Linked DNA regions of Homo sapiens: regions 2 and 3 are each linked to region 1. The links are contacts of gene promoters, found by promoter capture Hi-C in blood cells and fetal thymus (Javierre and others, 2016). All regions are on one chromosome and are shown on one strand. Each heading gives the region's core, a stretch centred on a gene start or on the middle of the fragment in contact. The rest is flanking DNA. Distances are from core to core; before and after follow the strand shown.

Region 1 (5,099 bases), core at 272-2,771:
GCCTCAAGGACTTAACTATTCCTGCAGCCCTTGCTTTGTTCAGCCCTGCATCCCATTAAACACTGGATGCAGGCAGAGACAGCTTTGTAAGACTCTGTCTTTATAAAGAAGGGAGACATTTATCTGGGTTCTCACTGGCTTCAGGAAGGTCACCTCTTTGTAAAGGTTCTCTGGTCTACTGCTAACTGGGTGCCAGGTGTATGGAAAATCAAGATGTGGTTGGCAGTAAATGATGAGAAAGCAATAAGGATCCCAATTCCACCACTCGGAGAGCTAGTCAGACTAAAATCTCCAAAGGTTGCCATTTATGAGAGAATTCGAAGGGTGTCCTTTGAGTCAACCTACAGCACAATAGATCAAACTTGTTCTGCCTCAAAAGTACAGTCAAGAGTGAGCAATCTTCCCTTACCACCCACTACTCCAACCCACCCAAGCTCCTTTCTCCAGGGATGCCTAAGTGATCTATTCACATGACTCTAGGATCCACCTGTATCCATGACAGTGTCTGCTGTCACCAACCTCCAAATGTCAATTTCTTACATATTTCGAAGTAATTGGAATGCTGTAGAAAGTGAAAATCATAGATTTTCAGTTTCATGTTACCCTCATCGCTTTCACCTGTATATCAGAGCTAGCTTCACGCATTCTTTTCTCTTGCCTCCCAGCTATCACGCAGTTGTTGGATAAAGCGGCCACTGCTCCCAAAGATTTGATGGAAGTTCTGCCAGATTTACCCACTCACCTGAAGGGAGATTTTCTGTACACCCCATGCCCCCGGACTGGTCACAAGGGTCAGCTGAGTTGGTTCACCCCCTCCCACTCTCGTCTTCGAGGCCCTTCATCCAGGAAAAGTCAGTCGCAAATTTAAGGCCTGGCCCTGTCGGGTTTCAAAACGATCCCGGAGGACTTGGGCCGAGGGACAAAGGAAAGCGAGGTCAGAGGCGGCCTTTCAGCCCGGGAGAGGCCTGGGGCCGCACAGCCGCCACCCCCTACATCACCTCCGCCGTCCCCAGTCACCCCCAGAAGTCCCAAACTAGCCAGAGCCCGGGCTTGCTCGCGTCCCTTCCGCGAGGCCGGAGCCCGAGCCCCCGCCGCCACCCAGAGCCCCCGCACCTTCTTGGGCGCCTTGGTGACGGTGGCCATGAAGGAGTACTTCTCGGCGTCCTCGATCTCCTTGGCCTGCTTCAGCTCCTCCCCGACCCCGGGCAGCGGCATCGCGTCAGGCATCGACATTCCCCGGCCGGCCCGGCCAGCGGCTGACCCGCCGCCCCCGCCTCTTTCCCCCTCTGGCGCCCGCCCGCCTGCCCGCGCGGCGCCCTCCGACACGCGATCGCCCACCCTCCTGCCGGCCCCTGCGTCGAGCTGCGTCGGCTTCTGAGGTGCTGTGGCCCACGCCTTGTCTGTTCGGCAGCCCAAGGCAGCCGGACAGCGACGGCGGCCACAAGAGAACCAGAACAGCAGCTCCGAGCTCCGACCTGCCCGCGCCGCCACCTCCGCTGTACGCAAACACGCACGCAAAGCGAGGGTAGAGGGCGGTGACGCCACGTCAAGTACTGGCAGCTCCCGGGAGGGGGAAGAGGCGGGGAGAAAGGGCACTCTGTCGTGACGTCACCACGCTGGGCTGGGCCACAGAAGCCGTTCCTCTCCCGCTCGAGAGCGAAGTTCCCAGGGTGAGCAGGACCCTTTGTGCCACCAGGTGGCACCATCAGCCCTGGGAGCAGCGCGAGGTTCATGCAACGATGCTGCGGAACGGAGGGTCTTTGGGCTGCGGGGTTCCTGGCAAGGCCTCAGAGGCGCATGAAAGGGGTGTTTGGGAGCAAAGACCAGAGCCCCACACGACACATCCTACAGCGATTCCTAGGAAATGTCCGGGGCTCGAGACAGCCCACTCACTCACTGGCCCAGCCCCAGGCCCTTTGGATTAAAGCTCCTTCCCAAGGGGCCGTGCCTGTCTTTTTGACTTCATAGGGGGCAGAACTGACTCAGAGTAGTCTGGTTTCTGCACAACGCTTTGTGACTTCCTCCACCACCATCTCCGACTGGGCCTTGCCTGTTTACAAAACCCTCATTGGGATAGGGCTGATGGGTATGAGGGTGGAGACCAGGAGAGCTGATGGAGAAGTCCCCAGCCAGAATGGCCTTCCGGTCCTTGCTCCACCAAAGCATTAGACCCTTCCAGCTCTCAGTGGGCATCCAGGACATTCATGGACTGCTCACACCCTTTTACTGGGCCTACTATGTGCAGTGCCTGTGCTGAGGCCCTGCTGGCAAAAGGACATGTGACGCATTTTATGTTTTGCAAGGCTTAGTTCAGCTGGAGAGGCAAAACCTGCTTGTATCCTAATGTCAGCTGAGGTAGCTTGTCCTTTGAGATTCAAATGACATTGGCTCCAATTACCATGTCCTGTGGAAAGTCCATTACTGGGAGGACTTGGATTTTCATGGTCACCTCTGGCTCTAGTTTTTTTGCCTTGTCTGGCATTTTATTCACTATTCTGGTCTTGTGACTGTTTCTGTAGCTCCTGGGGTCAATTCAGCCGCTTCTCCTTTCAACCCCCACCCCATGCTAAACAACTACAAAATAAGGCTGTAACATGTAGTAAAACTTTTAATAAAGGTTTGTGGGTCACAGGGGAGAGATTACATCACACAGCAAACAATTTAAGAACACATTTCTGAAATGTTCTGAAAAGTTATTTTGGCTGTCTTACCACCCGGGGATTTCTCAATGGCCACAAGATCCCACCACGCTCCCTAGCCCATTGCCATCTAATCTAGCTTCCTCCTGTTCCTCCCTTCCCATCTCTGCACCTCATCCTTCCTTCCTTGATAGACTCTGGGAAGCCAGATTCTCCTCTGCTGTGCTGAGCAATTCCAGTCTTCCCAGTGCCCTTTCCCTAAATTCCTCCCCAGGACCACCTTTTTTTTTTTTTTGAGATGACGTCTCGCTCTGTTGCCCAAGCTGGAGTGCTCTCAGCTCACTGCAACCTCCGCCTGCCGGGTTCAAGTGATTCTCCTGCCTCAGCCTCCTGAGTGAGTAGCTGGGACTATAGGCGTGCGCCACCGTGCCCGGCTAATTTTTGTATTTTTAGTAGAGACGGGGTTTCACCATCTTGGCCAGGCTGGTCTCGGATCCTGACCTCGTGATCCACCTGCCTCGGCCTCCCAAAGTGCTGGGATTACAGGCGTGAGCCACCGCGCCTGGCCAGGACCACCTTTTAACATCCAGAAACCTCCCAGGTTTTTAACAGGGCATACCCTTTCAAGAAGGAAGTTTTGGTTTGAAATGGCATTTTCCCCACTGATTTGTGTTCAGGGCTGGGGAGAGTGTGAAATATTCACCTCTAGGGCCCTAAAAGTCTTAGTCAGGGAATCCTGTGTTCCAGCCACCTAGCCTCATGAGACTGTCTGTTTGAAAAGGGCTGTAGAAGTGCCTGGAAGAATGCACCCTTTGCACATCTGCAGACCTTGGTCTTGAACTGTTTGTATTCTTTCATCTGCTCACTTTTTTGAGCACTCACACTTCCCTGTCAGGGGCATCACTGTAGCAGAACGGGAACAGAGATGGAGACCAGAATACCAGGTTCATCCATGAGGGTGCCAGACTGACATCTTTCAGCTAGGGGTCAGGAACCACACCTGGTGCACTAAGGACTCTCTGAACATAAGGCTCACAGTGGCTTTCATCCTTGTGGGTTTGCCCAAACTGTTGGCAGAGCCCAGGGATCAGAGATGCCTGCCCAAAGACTCGAGGCAGAACCCATTGGAACCAGGGATGAAATCTCAAGTCCCTATAGTAGAAAAATGTGTGACTTAAGAAGATCTTTTTTTTTTTTTTTTTTTTTTTTTTAAAGAGAAGCATCAGTGTATCTGTCTTTTGGATTTGATTTTTAGAACTCACTTTGTCTAAACATGTTGTCTCTCAGTCCCCCAGTTCTGCTGTGCATTTAAGCATCCAGACTGTGAGCTTCCTGGAGATTGAAGTTCAGTCTTTACTCCTCCTGGACCAGGTCTGCCCTAGCACCAGGCTCACAGTGTTGTCTGCTATTGCTGCTGCTACAGAGGATGACAGACAGGGCCAGGCCTAGAGCATGCAGTACCTTAGCAGTCTGGGCTAAGAAGGAGATCAGCAGGTCAGACTCCACTCACCTGAGTGGCTGGCCTGAGGGGAGGTTGATGAGCTGATGTAGGAGAGTTCGGGGACTCAGACTGGAAAGGGGAAGGGCAGCACCCCCTACCCTGGTGGAAAGCATTAGGCCTATGTGGTTCAAGTGAGGCCAGGGGCCCGGGACATTCTTGGAAACCAGCCACTGCAGGGGGCATGGGTGGCTGCCATCCCTTCCATCACGTGTGTGCTGGAGAGCAAAGAGCTCACCCAGCCAGGGAGTGTGACAACATAACATCCGTGAGAATCATTGCATCCTGTCTCCCACCCCCAAAACCCATCCTAAGATAGCCTCACATGGCACAGCTAAGGCGATTGCTTCTCATGAATGCCAAGAGATGACTTGTCTTCAGCCTACCCACCCACCTGACTCAGCACCTCTACTGGCAAGCTCACTGCCCTGAACAGCGCATCCACACACAGGTGAGAGACCCCCCACGGGGCAATTGGAGAAGAACAGGGACCCAAAGACAGATGCACCTGCTGTGTGTGGTGGTGGGAAGTCTCCAAGGGCCTGGAGCGAAGACCCTTGCTAGAAAGGAGTGGCCTAAGGGCAGTGGTGAATTGGGAGATGCTGTCACCAGAAATGTAGTGGCATTGGGCTACCACACGTGGGCTTGGTCTTGTTAATCAGATTCACTGTTTGTCCACCCCCAAATTGATGTTCTACATTCAGTCATTTGTTCTTTTATTTATAAAATATATATTGAGTGCCGAAGAAGTGCCAGCAGCAGGGCTAGATGTCAGTCGGGACTACAGAGATAAATAAGCTGAGGTGCTGATCTCTACGTGGGGACAGGTGATGGGGGTGGGGTGCAGTGGAGGGCAAAGGGATGACACAGAGGGAGATGCTGCCAGAGCTGAGTCTTGACAGATAAGCAGCTGGGCAAGGGAGGGAAGATTCTCCAGGCTGAAGAAACAGCCTGAGAATAGG
Region 2 (5,099 bases), core at 2,356-4,855, 240 kb after region 1:
GCTCCTGAATGACTACTGGGTACATAATGAAATGAAGGCAGAAATAAAGATGTTCTTTGAAACCAACGAGAACAAAGACACGACATACCAGAATCTCTGGGACACATTCAAAGCAGTGTGTAGAGGGAAATTTATAGCACTAAATGCCCACAAGAGAAAGCAGGAAAGATCCAAAATTGACACCCTAACATCACAATTAAAAGAACTAGAAAAGCAAGAGCAAACACATTCAAAAGCTAGCAGAAGGCAAGAAATAACTAAAATCAGAGCAGAACTGAAGGAAATAGAGACACAAAAAACCCTTCAAAAAATTAATGAATCCAGGAGCTGGTTTTTTTTAAAAGATCAACAAAATTGATAGACCGCTAGCAAGACTAATAAAGAAGAAAAGAGAGAAGAATCAAATAGACGCAATAAAAAATGATAAAGGGGATATCACCACTGATCCCACAGAAATACAAACTACCATCAGAGAATACTACAAACACCTCTACGCAAATAAACTAGAAAATCTAGAAGAAATGGATAAATTCCTCGACACATACACCCTCCCAAGACTAAACCAGGAAGAAGTTGAATCTCTGAATAGACCAATGACAGGCTCTGAAATTGTGGCAACGATCAATAGCTTACCAGTCAAAAAAAGTCCAGGACCAGATGCATTCACAGCCGAATTCTACCAGAGGTACAAGGAGGAGCTGGCACCATTCCTTCTGAAACTATTCCAATCAATAGAAAAAGAGGGAATCCTCCCTAACTCATTTTATGAGGCCAGCATCATCCTGATACCAAAGCCGGGCAGAGACACAACCAAAAAAGAGAATTTTAGACCAATATCCTTGATGAACATTGATGCAAAAATCCTCAATAAAATACTGGCAAACAGAATCCAGCAGCACATCAAAAAGCTTATCCACCATGATCAAGTGGGCTTCATCCCTGGGATGCAAGGTTGGTTCAACATTCGCAAATCAATAAATGTAACCCAGCATATAAACAGAACCAAAGACAAAAACCAAATGATTATCTCAATAGATGCAGAAACAGCCTCTAACAAAATTCAACAACACTTCATGCTAAAAACTCTCAATAAATTAGGTATTCATGGGACGTATCTCAAAATAATAAGAGCTATCTATGACAAACCCACAGCCAATATCATACTGAATGGGCAAAAACTGGAAGCATTCCCTTTGAAAACTGGCACAAGACAGGGATGCCCTCTCTCACCGCTCCTATTCAACATAGTGTTGGAAGTTCTGGCCAGGGCAATTAGGCAGGAGAAGGAAATGAAGGGTATTCAATTAGGAAAAGAGGAAGTCAAATTGTCCCTGTTTGCAGATGACATGATTGTATATCTAGAAAACCCCATTGTCTCAGCCCAAAATCTCCTTAAGCTGATAAGCAACTTCAGCAAAGTCTCAGGATACAACATCAATGTACAAAAATCACAAGCATTCTTATACACCAATAACAGACAAACAGAGAGCCAAATCATGAGTGAACTCCCATTCACAATTGCTTCAAAGAGAATAAAATACCTAGGAATCCAACTTACAAGGGATGTGAAGGACCTCTTCAAGGAGAACTACAAACCACTGCTCAAGGAAATAAAAGAGGATACAAACAAATGGAAGAACATTCCATGCTCATGGGTAGGAAGAATCAATATCATGAAAATGGCCATACTGCCCAAGGTAATTTACAGATTCAATGCCATCCCCATCAAGCTACCAATGACTTTCTTCACAGAATTGGAAAAAACTACTTTAAAGTTCATATGGAACCAAAAAAGAGCCCGCATTGCCAAGTCAATCCTAAGCCAAAAGAACAACGCCAGAGGCATCATGCTACCTGACTTCAAACTATACTACAAGGCTACAGTAACCAAAGCAGCATGGTACTGGTACCAAAACAGAGATATAGATCAATGGAACAGAACAGAGCCCTCAGAAATAATGCCACATATGTACAACCATCTGATCTTTGACAAACCTGACAAAAACAAGCAATGGGGAAAGGATTCCCTATTTAATAAATGGTACTGGGAAAACTGGCTAGCCATATGTAGAAAGCTGAAACTGGATCCCTTCCTTACACCTTATACAAAAATTAATTCAAGATGGATTAAAGACTTACATGTTAGACCTAAAACCATAAAAACCCTAGAAGAAAACCTAGGCAATACCATTCTGGACATAGGCATGGGCAAAGACTTCATGTCTAAAACACCAAAAGCAATGGCAACAAAAGCCAAAATTGACAAATGGGATCTAATTAAACTAAAGAGCTTCTCCACAGCAAAAGAAACTACCATCAGAGTGAACACGCAACCTACAAAATGGGAGAAAATTTTCACAACCTACTCATCTGACAAAGGGCTAATATCCAGAATCTACAATGAACTCAAACAAATTTACAAGAAAAAAACAAACAACCCCATCAAAAAGTGGGCAAAGGATATGAACAGACACTTCTCAAAAGAAGACATTTATGCAGCCAAAAAACACATGAAAAAATGCTCACCATCACTGGCCATCAGAGAAATGCAAATCAAAACCACAATGAGTTACCATCTCACACCAGTTAGAATGGCAATCATTAAAAAGTCAGGAAACGAGGTGCTGGAGAGGATGTGGAGAAATAGGAACACTTTTACACTTTTGGTGGGACTGTAAACTAGTTCAACATTGTGGAAGTCAGTGTGGCGATTCCTCAGGGATCTAGAACTAGAAATACCATTTGACCCAGCCATCCCATTACTGGGTATATACCCAAAGGATTATAAATCATGCTGCTATAAAGACACATGCACACGTATGTTTATTGCGGCACTATTCACAATAGCAAAGACTTGGAACCAACCCAAATGTCCAACAACGATAGACTGGATTAAGAAAACATGGCACATATACACCATGGAATACTATCCAGCCATAAAAAATGATGAGTTCATGTCCTTTGTAGGGACATGGATGAAACTGGAAACCATCATTCTCAGCAAACTATCGCAAGGACAAAAAACCAAACACCGCATGTTCTCACTCATAGGTGGGAACTGAACAATGAGAACACATGGACACAGGAAGGGGAACATCACACTCCAGGGACTGTTGTGGGGTGGGGGGAGGGGGGAGGGATAGCATTAGGAGATATACCTAGTGTTAAATGAGGAGTTAATGGGTGCAGCACACCAACATGGCACATGTATACATATGTAACAAACCTGCACATTGTGCACATATACCCTGAAACTTAAAGTGTAATAATAATAAAATTTAAAAAAAAGAAAGTAATGCAAAAACTGCAAAAAAAAAAAAAGAAAAAGAAAAGAAAATGGGCATAACACCTACTTCCTAAAGTTGTTGTGAAGCTTAAATTGGAATAAATTAGCTAACATACGTAAACACTTAGATATTGCCTGGCATATGATAGGTGCTCAATAAATGTTAATCTTATACCTCAGGTGAATTTGTGACTGGCCTTTTGCTTTCTTGGGAGGAGAGACACAGGCATTATAAATTTCACCTGTCCATGTGGTTTGTACTCTTCCTTTCTTCTGTTTAGCAAAATGCCCTTTTAAAAAGTCCCAACCTTGCTTCAGTTGAACTGATGGGCAAATGTGATTTCCCACACCTGAGCTAGGGGATCTAGGCTCTCAGACTGCCCTGAGAGCTGTGCTGCAGAGGCCTGGCCAGAACCCTCAGAGCAGCTCCGGACTCCTTCCTCTGTCACTCCTCCACATTCAACTAGAATCCTATGTCTCCCGAGTTGACCCTGTTGCAAATCTGTGCCCCTTTTCATTTGCATGGGCCCTGCCGAAATTCAGAAGCTTAGTTCTTCCCATGACTATAGGGGCCTCGGGCAGGTCTCTTGCTCTGTCAAGGTCAAAACCCCTACTTTCCTAAATTCAACCATTGATTCTCCATCTTCATCTTACTTGATCAGCCACACTTGACATAGTTGATCACTTCTCCCTTTAAACATCTTCACATGGCTTCTGGGACCTTTTGTTTTCCTCCTACCTCCCTGGCCACTCCTTTTCAGACTCCTTTGCTGGTTTGCTCTCATTTTTCCCTAACCTTTACATGTTGATATGCCAGAGCACCTCAAACCCTTAGACCTCATCTCTGCTACTCGTGCTCCCATGGTGATCTCATCTAGTCTCTGGTTTCAAACACAGAGTGATCACTCCTGTACTTGCTGTTTCCCTTTTCCTGGAGTTCTCTCTGCCTCCTGCAGGTAGGAAGTGATTCGAGATAAGAGAGGGAGAGAACTCTTCTGGCCAGGATAGAGGGTGATTCTGAGAAGGCTTCAAGGAAGAAGTGAGCATTTGAGCACGGCTACTTGAGGAAGGCTAGGCCATGGACATTAGGGTGCAGGCAGGAGCAGAGCAAACATGCTTGTAAAAGGAACAGCAATTATTCTGTTTTATATTTATATCAGCCCATGGTGGCCCCCACAGCAGAGTGGCTTGATCTCTCACCTCCTTCAGGTCTTTGTTTAAAGATTAACTTCTCCATGAGGCCTTCTATGAACATAACCTTTAAAAACATAAATCCCCTTCCTACTGGGACTCCCCCAGTTCCCACCCTGAGACCCCCTATCTCTCTTCTCGATTTTATTTCTCTCCATAGGATGTGTATCACCACCTGACTTACTAGCTATTTACTATATATTAGTTTATTTCTTCCCCATTAGAATGTAAACTTCCTGAGGGCAGGGATTTTGTCTGTTGAGTTCAGTTCTGTATCCCCAGCACCTAAAACAGTGCCTGTCCATAACAGGCATGTTAAACATTGTTGGACAGATGAATGAGTGAATGAAAAATGGTAGTACCTTTCCTCCTCCAGTCCATCCTACACAAAGAGGCAAGATTAATTTCCCTAAATGCGTGAGCATTAGGAAGTGGGAGGGATTGGAGGAGGAAATTATAATAAGGAATCCATAAATTACTTAAGCCCATAAAACAAAGGTAGGAAACATTCAAGATAAGAGACCTCTTCTGGCCAGGATAGAGGTTGGTTCTGAGAAGGCTTCAAGGAATAGGCAGACATTTCAGCAAGGCTGCTGAGGAAGGATAGGCTGTGGAAATTAGG
Region 3 (5,099 bases), core at 938-3,437, 180 kb after region 1:
TTCTGTCCACTTTTCTACCTGAGGAGAGAGGGTGAACTTCCAGTCTGGCTGCCCCCAGTCCCAGGCCAGGTGACCCCACCCACGCAGTACCCTAGCTTCTTGCTGCCACCACCCCCTCCCACAGCTGAGGAAGGCCTCTGCCTCTCTGAGGAGACTCCAACTCTCAGGGCCAGGGTCCAGCCCAGAAGTGACAGGAAGGATCCCTCTGGCTTATTTCCTGCAGATCAAAGTTGGGCAACAGCTGCCCAGATGTGTAAGCCTCAAACTGCTTCTGTCCCTGCCGGGAAAGAATACACTCAGGGTCTGGACCATCTGCCCCAGCTGGTTCTGGGCCAGGCTGGGGGTGAGGGATGTGGGACAGAGTTGGTAGGAGGCTGGAGCCAAGTTCTGGAAGGAAGGGTGGCGGGAAGGAAGACACTGTGGGTGGGAGTCAGAGCAGCCTGTATGAAGAACCGGACTAGGGCCAAGGCAGACACGCTCCACTACTGACACCAGGGGGCCCACAGACTTGGGTGGGAGGGAGTGTCACAGAGAGGCAATCCTGGATCAGTGGCTCAGGTCACCGAAACTCTGGTCCTAACTTTGCCGCCTAGCAGCTATGTGACCAGAAAAAACCGCTTTCCCTCTCTGGGCTTTGGTTTATCCACCTTGAAGACTGAAAAATGGTGGAAATGAAGTATGTAAAGTGCAGAGCCCAGTGGCACAAGTAGGTGCTCAATAGACACAACTCACCTGCATCCTAAAGACAGTTGTTCACCCCAAGCCTAAGGCCCTTCCCGGCCCAGAAGCTCTATGTCTGTGAAAGAATCAGGCTTCTATTCCCACATTAGAAGGGACAGGGCCCAGCTGGGCACAGTGGCTCACGCCTGTAATCCCAGCACTTTGGGAGGCCGAGGGGGTGGATCGCAAGGTCAGGAGATCGAGACCATCCTGGCTAACACAGTGAAACCCCGTCTCTACTAAAAATACAAAAAATTAGTGGGGCGTGGTGGCAGGTGCCCGTAGTCCCAGCTACTCGGGAGGCTGAGGCAGGAGAATGGTGTGAACCCGGGAGGTGGAGCTTGCAGTGAGCCGAGATGGCGCCACTGCACTCCACTCTGCTTTGGGGGTAGGGGTGTGAGGGGAGCTGAACAGAAAGAATGGAAGAAAGCCTGGAGCATCCAGGAGTTGGGAGGGTGGGTGGGCGTGGCGGCAGGGCCGAGGCGCTTCCCCTGGCAGGATCTGGACTCGGGGACCTGCCAAGACTCTTACTGCTCCTCCCAGCTGTCACCTATCTTGCCCATCCAACCCATGCCTGCTCCCTTCTCCCCACCAACCATCACTTGTACCCTGAGGCTGTAGCTCTGAACTCAATTACATCATTCTAGGGGGTACAATGGCTCAACACTTACAGAGCAGCCAAGCTAAAGCCAACATCCTAAGCTCAACAAGCTAAGCACCAGAGGCTGAAAACATTGGTAAGATGGGTTCTTATCTTCCAAGAACTTTTAATTAAAATGATAATAACACCTGTTGATCGTTCCAGCTAATACCACTTAGCAAATTCAACTGCCTTCAAGATCCAGCCACGTGATAAAAGTGACCACAGCAGCGTGGTGGAAGCAACAGGGCAGGTGCAGACTGAGGACAAGCTGTGAGCCAACATTTCAAAGTGGGCCAAAGTAAAGACAGCTGCTTCTGCTGCCTTCTGTGACATTTCCTGAGTTCTTACTAAGTGCCAGGCATTCTTTCACTTAATTCTCTCCAGAAATCTAGGAGATAGAGATTAGCATTGTAGGATTCAGACTCTAGCTCCTAGAGCTCTGGAGTGACTCCATGTCCATGCCTTTCTGTGACCCCCAGCCCTCAAATAGGGCAGGACCTGTGAGTAGCTCCTAAACAAGGAAATATAGCAAAGGGAATGGGACGTCATTTCTATGATTATGTTATATTATAAAAAACGTGGGCTCGCAAGGATGACATGCAAATTCATGAAGCATTCCATAAAAGACGGGGGCTTGGCCAGGCATGGTGGCTCACACCTATAATCCCAGCACTTTGGGAGGCCAAGGCGGGCGGATAACCTGAGGTCAGGAGTTCAAGACCAGCCTGGCCAACATGGTGAAACCCCATCTCTACTAAAAATACAAAAATTAGCTGGGCATGGTGGTGCGTACCTGTAATCCCAGCTACTCAGGAGGCTGAGACAGGAGAATCACTTGAACCTGGGAGGCGGAGGTTGCAGTGAGCCGAGATCGTGCCACTGCACTCCAGCCTGGGCAACAAAGAGAAAAACTCCGTCTCAAAAAAGAAAAAAAAAAAAAAAAAGACCTGGGCTTACTAGCAGACTGGTGCTAGACATTTTCTTCCTTGCTGAATTTGAAGAAGTGTGTGCCATGATCTGAAGGGGCATACAGAGAGGCTTTGTGGTAAGGAATTACAGGCAGCCTCTAGGACCTGAGAGCAGCCCCCGACCAACAGTTACCACAAAGATTTTAGTTCTACAACCACAAGGAGATGAATTCTGCTAACAACCTTCATAAGCCTGGAAGTGGATCCATCCCCAGTTGAGCGTCCAGATGAAGAACCCAGCCCTGGCTGACACCTTCACTGCAGCCCTGGAGAGGACCCAGCTAAGCCTAAAAAATGTGCGCTGTTATAAGCCCATAAGTTTGTGATAATTTATTATGAAGCAATAGAAAACTAAGGTAAGTACTATCTCCATCTTACAGATGAGAAACCTAAAGCTCAGAGACTTTGACCACAGGCACACACTTAGCATGAGGCACAGCAGGGACAGAGCCCAGTCTCCAGACTCAGCAGGCTGGTTTTCTCTTTAGGACCCCAGCTGCAGAGCTGGTCATTGTTCTCTCAGTGGCCACCTAGATACAGGAAGAGCAACCTGCATAGTATTGATTGAAATACCTTTTTTTCCATTTTAATTTAACAAACATTTGTTGAGCCCTCTCTGTGTGCCCAGCACTGTGCCAGGTGCAAGGGATTCCAGGTTGTGGCGGGTACAGTGGTGGACGTGGACAACAGACAAGCCATGTCAGTGTGATAAGGGTTACAGCATGAGGAGAGACGGGATGTGCTGGGAGCATGCGATGGGCAGCCAGCCTCCGCCGGGTGCCAGGGAGAGCCTCCCACAGGAAGTGATACACAGATCCCTTGGGGTGGGCCTGGTGGTGAGCCAGCCTCTCTGAATTGCAAGTGAGTGAGTAGGTGAGAGGGTGGGTTTTACTGGCGAAGGGTCCCCAGAGAAGAGGACTCTTCCAGCAATGTGAAATCACCCTGCTTCCGTGCACTGGCTTCCAGGACACCTGTCTCAAGGACCCAGGGCCTCCATGACTGCCCTATGACGCCTAAGAACTCAGATCCCAGTGAGCACCACTTCCCGGATGCATCAGGGTGGCTGGGGTGGAGAAGCAGTTGTTTGGCTGTGACTCTCCTCTTCTAAACATCCCCAGACATCTGGCAGGGGAAGCACTGTAGGTTGGGGTGGGAGGCAAAGCAGGGAAATAGGGGGTACATGGATGAGGGTATGAGCAGAGCCAGAAAAAAGAGCAGGAATTAGAAAGGGGCACCCCCTCCTATAGCCCAGCTGCAGTCTGTAGTGACTTGGCAGACCCAGGAGTCCTTGCTGATCAACTGGCTGGATGGTATGGATAATGCAGGGTCCCAGGAGGAAGCCGTCAACATACTCAAACTGGGGGATTTGAGAAGTATTCAATAAGGAGACTATTGTCAAAGGTCTTGGAAAAGGATTGCAGGAACCTGGACCAAGAGCATCAGGCTTTCCTGATGCTGGACCTGATGGCCCCAGGGGAGGTCACTGGACCTGCAGAGCTCTGGAGCTGAGTAGATAGGGCTGCCTGGCAGCAGCTGTGGCCTCATGGAGGGATGCAGCCAGGCTGTGGCTGCCCCACAGGAGGTTAAGTGCCCTGACCTCACTCTCCTCTCTGCCTCCCATAAGCTATCGGCGCTCCCCAGTGACCAAGGCAGAGGGTAAGGGCACCCATAGACGTAGTTCCCACAGTCCTAGGGGGCAGAGCAAGGTGGAGAAAGTTGGCAGGCAGACTGGAAAAAGGCACCCAATCCTGACTCATTTTCCTTCTCTGTACAAGAGTGTTGATGAGCATGCTTATGTTTTGCTTGTTCCAAATTTGAAAAGCAATCATGTATCTAACGGTCCCAGCCTGGAGTCTGGCAGGCACAGGCTGGTTGCCAGCATTTGGTTTCCAAGAGTCAGCAACAAGAACACAAAATCGGGGCCACTGAGAAGTCAGTCACCAGCCCCAGAAGCCCTGGGCAGCAGAACAATCACTGACAAGAGGTTGGCTCAGGAGGTCTTAGAGTCCTTGCCAGGAATGGAACCCAGAAACCCTTTCTCCACACACTCACTCACACCCCAATCCTGCAGCTGTGGGAGGCTGGAGAGCAGCAGCAGCAGGCCTGTAGGCAGCGCAGCGTCGGCCTTCAGGGTGGCAGAGGGGCAGGCAGCTAGACCAGGAGGCCCAGCTCTGCCTAGAATCGTGGGCCCAGCTGGTAGGAAACTGGGCAGTGCTGAGTTCACTTCCCCCAGTGTGGGGATCCTCCTATGCACCCTAGACAGTAGCATCTAGGTGGGAGGAAGCTCACGGCCCCACTGGGCTCCAGGGCAGCTGGGAAGCCTGATTATCAGCAAGTAGCCGCCTGGCCCTGGATGTCCCCAGCCTAGGGCCCGAACAACCCAAGCCCTCAGAACGTCTCCAGGCCCAGCCCCACCTTCTGCCCACCTGTGATATTTATTCCCCTTCAGCGCCCATAACAAAGGCCCCTGGTAAGACCCGCAGCCCTCTGCCCTTTTCTTTATCACTGGCATCGCAAGTTCACAGGAAGAGGGTTTTCAAAGCAACAGAGTCAAGATTGCACTGCGGTCAACGTTTTTCAAAAGAAAAGAAACCAAAATGGATCAAAGAACTGCAGGTGCAGCAGATTAAGACCCTGCCTGTGACCTGTGCCGGGAAATGGGCCAGGGAAGGGTGCGAATGCCTTGGGGTTGGGGCAGCCCCTTCCACTGATTTACTGCTTTTCCAGCTCTCCAGGGCAAGGGCAGGGGAAGGGTCAGAGAGGTGAAG

Evidence for each region. Contacts are between HindIII fragments. The CHiCAGO score rates a contact against its expected background, and 5 or more counts as called.
Region 2: a fragment that was not itself captured here is called in contact with the fragment with the promoter of AHCYL1 in region 1 in 4 of 17 cell types (erythroblasts, fetal thymus, neutrophils and 1 more); the score reaches 6.0 in erythroblasts.
Region 3: a fragment that was not itself captured here is called in contact with the fragment with the promoter of AHCYL1 in region 1 in 2 of 17 cell types (neutrophils and endothelial precursors); the score reaches 5.9 in neutrophils.

The regions. Positions count from the first base shown.
Region 1 is chr1:109,981,187-109,986,285 of GRCh38, reverse strand. It overlaps AHCYL1 (adenosylhomocysteinase like 1), which reads right to left and starts at 1,521. Exons shown (of 17, transcript NM_006621.7): 1 at 1,114-1,521. The coding sequence starts at 1,233. RefSeq lists silencers at 976-1,045, 1,226-1,295. The HindIII fragment of the contact is 11,948 bases long and covers 1-5,099 here.
Region 2 is chr1:109,740,959-109,746,057 of GRCh38, reverse strand. GSTM3 (glutathione S-transferase mu 3) reads left to right here and starts at 5,020. Exons shown (of 9, transcript NM_000849.5): 1 at 5,020-5,099. The HindIII fragment of the contact is 459 bases long and covers 3,376-3,834 here.
Region 3 is chr1:109,802,210-109,807,308 of GRCh38, reverse strand. No RefSeq gene overlaps it. Among named protein-coding and RNA genes, the nearest start is that of LINC01768, 23 kb to the left of the region's middle. The HindIII fragment of the contact is 6,934 bases long and covers 1-5,099 here.